Linked DNA regions of Homo sapiens: region 1 is linked to region 2. The links are contacts of gene promoters, found by promoter capture Hi-C in blood cells and fetal thymus (Javierre and others, 2016). All regions are on one chromosome and are shown on one strand. Each heading gives the region's core, a stretch centred on a gene start or on the middle of the fragment in contact. The rest is flanking DNA. Distances are from core to core; before and after follow the strand shown. Region 1 holds the start of CXorf65 (chromosome X open reading frame 65). Region 2 has its middle 67 kb from the start of SNX12.

Region 1 (3,782 bases), core at 72-2,571, 110 kb before region 2:
TGGGGGCCCAGGAGCCTGTGTATCCCTTCTGTAATCAATTACAGTGGTTGCAGACATCATGAGTACTCCTTTGGCACAGAGCTCGGTCTTTTACTTCCTGCCCCTAATTGACCCCTGACCTGGACATATCTGTCTTTAGGCCTGGAGTGGTGTGTCTAAGGGACTGGCTGAGAGTCTGCAGCCAGACTACAGTGAACGACTCTGCCTCGTCAGTGAGATTCCCCCAAAAGGAGGGGCCCTTGGGGAGGGGCCTGGGGCCTCCCCATGCAACCAGCATAGCCCCTACTGGGCCCCCCCATGTTACACCCTAAAGCCTGAAACCTGAACCCCAATCCTCTGACAGAAGAACCCCAGGGTCCTGTAGCCCTAAGTGGTACTAACTTTCCTTCATTCAACCCACCTGCGTCTCATACTCACCTCACCCCACTGTGGCTGATTTGGAATTTTGTGCCCCCATGTAAGCACCCCTTCATTTGGCATTCCCCACTTGAGAATTACCCTTTTGCCCCGAACATGTTTTTCTTCTCCCTCAGTCTGGCCCTTCCTTTTCGCAGGATTCTTCCTCCCTCCCTCTTTCCCTCCCTTCCTCTTTCCATCTACCCTCCGATTGTTCCTGAACCGATGAGAAATAAAGTTTCTGTTGATAATCATCAAAAATGTCTGTCATGGGGGTGGGGAGCAGGGGAAGCCTGGGATGCAATGAGGGTGGGAGGGGAAGAAAAAGGAGTAGTACATTCATGCTGTGGAGGCAGGAGTATTACCAATTTGCTAGAAAGAGTACTGTTCTGGAAACTGACTTTTTTCCAGGTGCCCTGCACTCATTCCAGGGTTTAGTTTAGAGTTAGACTTACAATGGGCTGGGCGTGGTGGCTCACGCCTGTAATCCCAGCACTTTGGGAGGCCAAAGCGGGTGGATCACGAGGTCAGGAGATCGAGACCAGCCTGGCCAACATGGTGAAACCCCGTCTCTACTAAAAATACAAAAATTAGCCAGGCGTGATGGTGTGCTCCTGTAATTCCAGCTACTTGGGAGGCTGAGGCAGGAGAATCGCTTGAACCCAGGAGGTAGAGGATGCAGTGAGCCAAGATTGTGCCACTGCACTCCAGCCTGGGCGACAGAGGGAGACTCCATCTAAAAAAATAAAAAAAATAAAAAAAGTTAGACTTACCATGTTGTCCCCCCTTTCCAACTAATCTTTAACATACCCCACCCAAGTTTTTCTCTCCTTACCCTTACTCCACTTTTTGGCCACACCTGCCACTTCTGACCTCATAATCCCTTAACTGCAGTCTCAGGCCCCACCCCTGGGGATACTGGTTATCCACAACTATCAACAGCTCTCTCCTGCCTGTCCAGCCTGGGCATCCTCAGCCTATGAAATCCATCTGCCTCTCTAGTCCACCAACCCTATAGGCCTATTTGCCCCACACAAGGCCTCTAGAACACCCTCCTTCTGCATGACTCATCAGGGCACTTTGTGAAGAGTGAGGCGATCTTGAGGGCATGTTCATCTTCATCAAACATGGAGGTGAGGGGCAGCACAGAACTAGAGTCTGTGGATGGGGGTGGAGGGATCTGAGGGCAGTGGAGATCACAGAAATGGGCCCATGTGTCCCATCCTATCTCTTCTCAGATAATCAGCAGTTTCTGGTCAATACCAACTGTGCTGTCGTCGTGTTGCTGTATTACATCCGCAGTAAAGTAAAGTTGCCTAAAACAAGTGAGGAGCTTAGGGAGGGGACTAATGGCCAAAGGTCAGAAGGAGTTGGGTCATCTCTAACCCCCAAGCCCTCCTCCTGGCAAGAAGGGAGTTCCTCATATCCTTAGAGCTTCCTCCAACCCATTTTGTATAGGATCACTGGCCCCTTTTGCTCCCACTCTCTTTCCTTAGCTGCCCCAATTACCCTGTGATCTCCCTCCAGACACCATCGATTTGTGTGAACAAACGGGGAAAATGAAGATGCTTTTCCTGATGAAGCCCAATCATGCAGAGTATGCCAGCAAATACCTTACAGCTCGAAGCACCTACTACGTTTGTAAGGTGGAACGTGGGCCACCAGGTAGAGGCTCAGGAGTGTTCCCCAGAAATAGAATAAGGCCTTCAAGATAGATTATGAACCTTATCTTTAAAACAAGGCATCCAAGGCTGGGCATAGTGGCTCATGCTTGTAATCTCAGCACTTTGAGAGGCCAAGGCGGGAGAATCGATAGAGGGCAGGAGTTTGAGACCAGCCTGGGCAACATAACAAGAGCCTGCCTCCAAAACCAAAACCAAAACCAAAAACAACCAAAACCAAATTAAAACAAAAAACAGAACACCCTCAAACAACAGAACACCCTCAACCAGATCCAAATTGACCATCTCTAGTCAGCCTAAGGAAGGGTACTGCCTCTATAATAATAGGTTACCTCACACATACTCTCCCCTAGGTCCATACCTAAGGGGAAGAAATATCCACCAGCTCAAGGTAGGTTTTTTTTTTTTTTTTTTTGGGACAGAGTTTCGCTCTTGTTGTCCAGTTGTCCAGGCTGGAGTGCAATGGCGCGATCTCAGCTCACTGCAACCTCTGCCTCCCAGGTTCAAGCGATTCTCCTGTCTTAGCCTCCTGAGTAGCTGGGACTACAGGCACCCGCCACCAGGCCCAACTAATTTTTTAGTGCAGATGGGGTTTCACCATGTTGGCCAAGCTGGTCTTGAACTCCTGACCTCAGGTGATCCACCCACCTCAGCCTCCCAAAGTGCTGGGATTACAGGCGTGAGCCACTGTGCCCGGCAAGGTAGTCTTTATTTTTATTTATTTATTTATTTTATTTTTTGTGATGGAGTCTTGCTCTGTCACCCAGGCTGAAACAGTGGCATGATCTTGGCTCACTGCAACCTCTGCCTCCTGGGTTCAAGTGATTCTCCTGCCTCAGCCTCCGGAGTAGCTGGGATTACAGGCGCCCACCACCATGCCCAGCTAATTTTTTTTGTTTGTTTGTATTTTTGGTAGAGATGGGGTTTCACCAAATTGGCCAGGCTAGTCTCGAATTGGCCAGGCTAGTCTGGAACTCCTGACCTCAAGTGATCCGCCCACCTTGGCCTCCCAAAATGCTGGGATTACAGGCGTGAGCCACCGCATCTGGCGGGTAGTCTTTAGTGTTAGGTCCTGGAATCTTGGACTTCTGAAGGGTGGAGACTGGATGACAGGGGCTGGAGATAGCACATGGCTATGTTCACAGGAACCAGGCTGGAGAATGCTTACAGAGCTTTTGTGCCTCTCCTCAAGAATCCGGAGCCTTGGCTGCTTGGTAAGAAGTGAGATGGGGGAGGGAAGAACATGAAGGGTACAGTATATAGCTGTGTGATGGAGAATGTAGGGTGGGACTAGCGTGATATGGTAGGTCAGATGATAGGAGCCTAGGAAAAGGCGGGCAGGGTCCAGGTCCACTTTAGGAGGGACGTTTAGCTCACACCAGGTGGAATGTGCATGCGTTACTCCCCACTTCCCCCATTTCTTGGCCATCTTCTCCGTATATCTCCCTGTCACCATTCCATCATTTCCATCTTAGGCCAAGTGGGGCTCCAGCTGATGGTTTGAACAATGAATGGGAGCATCAGGAAGGGTAAGGTCTCTAGTTCTCAGAGGTGCAGGTGCCTTTTCCTTGTTCTTAGTTGCACTGCGCATACAATGTGATGCCCTGGAGAGGAGACGAATTCAGATGCTTAAAATGAAAGAAGCCAAGAAGGTCGTTATAATTGAACCCCCTGCGAGTGTCCCGGTAAGACTTGCCAAATGTG
Region 2 (5,516 bases), core at 2,658-5,157:
GTAATCCCAGCTACTCAGGAGGCTGAGGCAGGAGAATCACTGGAACCTGGGAGGCAGAGTTTGCGGTGAACCAAGATCACGCCATTGCACTCCAGCCTGGGCAACAGAGTAAGACTTCATCTCAAAAAAAAAAAAAAAAAAAGCAAAGAAAATGTGGTACATATACACCATGGAGCACTACACAGCCATAAAAAGAACAAGATCATGTCCTTTGCAGGAACATGGATGGAGCTGAAGGCCATTATCCTTTGCAAACTAAGGCAGGAACAGAAAACCAAACACTGCATGTTCTCACTTATATGTAGGAGCTAAACAATGAGAACACATGGACACATAGCGGGAAACAACAGACACTGGGGCCTACTTGAGGGAGGAGGATGAGAGGATGGAGAGGTTTAGAAAAAAAATACAACTCTTGGGTACTATGCTTACTACCTAGGTAATGAAATAATCTGTACGACAAACCCTTGAGTCACGAGGTTACCTATATAGCAAATATGTACATCTACCTCAAACCTAAAATAAAAGTTAAAATATTAAAAAAAAGAAATTTTTTTACTCTAAGTTCTGGGATACATGTGCAGAATGTGCAGGTTTTTTACATAGGTATACATGTGCCATGGTGGTTTGCTGCACCTATCAACCCATCATCTAGGTTTTAAGCCCCACATGCATTGGGTATTTGTCTTAATGCTCTCCATCCCCCTGCCCCTTAACCCCCGACAGGCCCTGGTGTGTGATGTTTCTCTCTCTGTGTCCACGTGTTCTCATTGTTCAACTCCCATTTATGAGTGAGAACATGTGGTGTTTGGTTTTCTGTTCCTGTGTTAGTTTGCTGAGAATGATGGTTTCCAGCTTCATCCATGTCCCTGCAAAGGACATGAACTCATTCTTAAAAAAAGAAATTTTGTACACACACTTAAGTAATATTACTTAAAAACCTGTATATTAATAATGTAAGATAGTAAAGTTACTATGTAAGTAGTAAGGCAATATAAATAATAACAAAGCCTGAAACACAATTTTAAAAAATTGCCAGCATTTACTGCTCATAGTTGAATGAATAATGAAAGGACACTGTCTTAGTCCGTTCTCATGCTGCTTATAAAGACATACCTGAGACTAGGTAATTTATAAAGGAAAAAAGTTTAATGGACTCACAGTTCAGCATGGCTGGGGAGGCCTCAGGAAACTTACAATCATAGTGGAGGGGGAAGCAAACAAGTCCTTCTTCACATGGTAGCAGCAAGCAGAAGTTCAGAGCAAAGGTGGGAAAAAGCCCCTTATAAAACCATCAGATCTCATGAGAACTCACTCACCATCATGAGAACAGGATGGGGGAAACCGTCCCCCCGATTCAATTATCTCCACCTGGTCTCTCCCAGGACATATGGGGATTATGGGAACTACAATTCAAGATGAGATTTGGATGAGGACACAGCCCAACCATGTCAGACACAGTCAGAAGAAGAAAAAGCAAGGCAACAAACAAAAGGCTACTTACTGCCAAAGAGAAGTTTCAAAATTCATTTATATAGTGAACATTTATTGAGCACTTATAATGTGCTAAACACACTGAGATACAAAGATTGGTTAAGTCTTTCTTTTCTTTCTTTCTTTCTTTCTTCCTTTCTTCTTTCTTTTCCTTCCTTCCTTCTTTCCTTCCTTCTTTTCTTTCTTTCTTCCTTCCTTCTTTCCTTCCTTCTTTTCTTTCTTTCTTTCTTCCCTCCCTCCCTCCCTCCCTCCCTCCCTCCCTCCCTTCCTTCCTTCCTTCCTTCCTTCCTCTCTTTCTTTCTTTTGAGACCAATCTCACTCTTATTGCCCAGGCTGGAGTGCAGGGGCACCATCATAGCTCACTACAGACTCGAACTCCTAGGCTCAAGCAGTCCTCCCACCTCAGCCTCCCGAGTAGCTGGGACTACAGGCACACACCACCATGCCCGGCTGCAATATTTTATTTCTATCACCATGTATCTTACATCTAGTGGGGGATGATATTGTGTAAACAGAAATATTACATTCTAGTGTGGTAACTGCCATTGCAGAGTGGTGAACAGAGTGCTATGGGAACACAGAGAACAGAACAATCAACTATGTTTAATACACATTGCCTGTAGCATAGTGGTTAAAAGTTCAGGTTTTGAAGACCTATATTTAAATCCCACCATTTACTAGATGACAATGCTATTTAGCCCCTTTAAATCTCAGCTTTTTCATCTGTAAAATGATAATAGTAGTTATAGAATTGATTGAGGATTAAAATAAGCTAATGAACATAAATTGTTTAGCAAAACTCCTTGATAAATAATAGCTAGTTTGTCTTTCCCAAGAAGACACATACTAAAGGATGAGTAGGACATTGTCAGGTGAGGAAGAAAGAAAAGGACATTCTAAGAGGACAGGATACAATGTGTGAAGACATGGAGACATTATAGGGCCTGCTGTGTTTGTGGAATGGTGAGAAGCTTAGCATGCAGGAGTTTGGGGGTGGAGTAGAGCGTGAGGCTAACAACCTGGACTGAATCCTAACATGCTAGACCAAGGAGTTGTGTTTTATCCTGTAGGCACCGAGGAGTCAAAAGAGTGAGTTTTGTTTTGTAAAGATCATTTCGAAAGTAGTGTGGAAGTTGAACAGGTGTAGAATGGAGAGAGATTGGTGGCAGGACTACTTAGCAGACGTAATAGTCCAAGCTGGACATTATGAGAGTCTGAACCAAGATCGAGGCAGTATGGGGGAAAGGCTAGGCTTGACAGAATGATATTTATGAGTTAAAATCAACAGGACTGTATGCTGATTGATTAGATGTGCAGCGTTAGGGAGAAGGGATAATTAAGGCAAAAGCAAAAGCTTCTAGCTTAGGAACATGGCTTGCGATTGTGAATGAGAATGTAATTCAAGAATTTAGTAAATTGTGGCAGTAGAGAAGGTAAGTCTGATTTTAGACTAGTGGAGCTTAGGGTACCTCTTTGTAACCTGTAGGTAAAGATGCTTAATTGTAATTTGGAAATACAAATCTAGAGCTTAAGCAAGAGTTCGAGGCTATTATTAAAAATTTCCATGGATGAAATTGGAAATCATCATTCTCAGTAAACTATCGCAAGGACAAAAAACCAAACACTGCATGTTCTCACTCATAGATGGGAATTGAACAATGAGAACACATGGACACAGGAAGGGGAACATCACACTCTGGGGACTGTTGTGGGGTCGGGGGAGAGGGGAGGGATAGCATTAGGAGATATACCTAATGTTAAATGACGAGTTAATGGGTGCAGCACACCAGCATGGCACATGTATACATATGTAACTAACCTGCACATTGTGCACATGTACCCTAAAACTTAAAGTATATATATAAAAAAAAAAAAGAATAAAGCAACTTAGATTTAACTGTAAAAAAAATTTTGCAATCTGTCATTGTATAGATGATAGTTGAAGCTGTGTAAGTAGATAAACTTTGTTCCAGGTGGTGTAAGAAGATAAGAGACTAGGACATAACCCTAGGGAATCCCAATGAATAAGTGTTGAACAGAAGAGGGAAGTCTGAAAGGGAAAGGTAAGAAAAAAAAATGAAGAGACAGTAGTGTCATTTCTTCCCATTTCACTCCTTTCTTCCCAGAGGCCAAGAAGAACTTCTGGGAAATAAGAGCAACCAATCGCCTTAGGCTGTATAAATATGGGCCAATAAGTTCAGCAACTAGGAAGCTTTCCTTTAAAGTTTGTTGGAGTCACGGCAGAAGGCAGACTGCAGCAAATTGAACAAATGGACAGGGCGAAAGGACAGTGGTTGTAGATTAATTGTTCCAGAAATCTGGCTATGAAAGGAAGGAGGTAGAAAGGATGGTAGTTTGTAACGAGATAGGGGAGAAATAGTGTTTTAACTTTGTTTTAGAATGGGGAAACGTTAAGCCTGTCTGTAGGTATATAAGAAAATGTGGAAAATAGAAGAGAAAGGGGATATTTGATGGAATCAGAGTCTAGAGAGACAATCTTCCTTGTAGATTCTTTTGGTGACCACCACTTGTAAGTTGATTTAGGATGTTCAGAGTGTGGAACAAAGCCAGAGAAGAATCGAGAGGGAGTGAGACACAAAAGAACAAAGCTTGGAGTCCTGTTCATTACTTCCTTTTATGTTCTAGAGAATGCTTATCATAGAGAACAATCAGTCTTTCTCTGGGTCTCCATTTACCCTGTTACTTTGCCCTAGAAGATGTTATTCATTTCCCTGACTGAAACAGATGGTAGAAAATGCAACTCAGCTTACTTACTGTTAAAACAAACCATCTTTTTGGACTTTTATTATTTGGAATTTTCTTATAATAGTTATATTTATTTTAGAAATTTTAGATAATACAGATAAAAAATAAAAGAAAACTGGCAGCCCTACTCCCCAGGAATAATCAATATTAACATTTTGGTATATATTCTTTCAGTCTTTTTTCCCTTATCTGTAATAGGAGGAAAATATGCAAATAGCCAACCCCCATGGAACCACTTCCATAAGGCTTCTGTCAGATTCCAAATGTTCCCAAGGCTTCTATAGTACTTATGTAACAAGCCACACAGTGGATTGATTACTGTTAATGTATGTCCTCTGGGAGTTGCCAAGGAGGCTCACACTTTCAATTACTGTACATCCCAGATTTGAAAGCATATCCCTAACTATTTGTCTTAAGGATTTTAATTTTTTTCTTTCTTGCTACTGGATATAAGTGTCTAACAATTCTCACTGGGAATTGATTAGTGAGTAGGTATTGTCAGGTAACATGATTAATGCTGTAATAAGTATATAGGAAACTAAGAACTCAGAAAAAGAATTACTCATTGAAATTTTAATAATAACTGTCATTTAAGAGATGAGATTAACTATGTGGAGAAGTGGTTTACAACTGTGTTGCTAATGAAAACATAGGAAATAACCAAGTTAATCAAAGTGCAACTTTAGAACTGGGTGGTAACTTAAAAAAGCATTTCTGCCCTCCCTCAGCTGCAGGCATCTCGGCACAGAGACAGAGAGAGAGAGAGAGAGAGAGAGAGAAGAGAGAGAGAGAGAGAGACTCTGTTTGTTTGGGTAAAAGTAAGGGCAGAGAAAAAAAGTTTCTGTCTGGTAATCCAGAGAATTCTTTCGGATCTGATCCAAGACCACCAAGGCAGTACCTCAATGAGTCTGCAAGAGCCACAGTGTTACTGAGCTTGGGGTGCCCCCTAACGTAGATGTGACTACAGTGACCAAAAACTTAGATCACAACACCCAAAGTCCCTTCGAATACCTGGAAAGTTTCCCAAGAAGGACGGGTATGAACAAGCCCAGACTACAAAGACTACTAAACACCTAACATTTCAATACTTAGACACTGACGAACATGCACAAGCACGAAGACCATTTAGGAAAACATGATCTTCCCAAATGAACTAAATAAGGCACCAAGGACCAAGCCTGGAGAGACAGAGATATGTGATCTTTCGGACAGAGAATTTGAAATAGCTGTTTTGAAGAAACTCAAGAAAATTCAAG

The links. Contacts are between HindIII fragments. The CHiCAGO score rates a contact against its expected background, and 5 or more counts as called.
Region 1: the fragment with the promoter of CXorf65 here is called in contact with a fragment that was not itself captured in region 2 in 4 of 17 cell types (megakaryocytes, M1 macrophages, total B cells and 1 more); the score reaches 9.2 in megakaryocytes.

What each region holds. Positions count from the first base shown.
Region 1 is chrX:71,104,279-71,108,060 of GRCh38, reverse strand. It overlaps CXorf65 (chromosome X open reading frame 65), which reads left to right and starts at 1,321. Exons shown (of 6, transcript NM_001025265.3): 1 at 1,321-1,529; 2 at 1,635-1,721; 3 at 1,924-2,061; 4 at 3,224-3,292; 5 at 3,657-3,763. The coding sequence starts at 1,505. IL2RG (interleukin 2 receptor subunit gamma) reads left to right here. Exons shown (of 8, transcript NM_000206.3): 8 at 140-657. The coding sequence ends at 325. The HindIII fragment of the contact is 6,290 bases long and covers 1-3,782 here.
Region 2 is chrX:70,998,347-71,003,862 of GRCh38, reverse strand. No RefSeq gene overlaps it. Among named protein-coding and RNA genes, the nearest start is that of SNX12, 67 kb to the left of the region's middle. The HindIII fragment of the contact is 397 bases long and covers 3,709-4,105 here.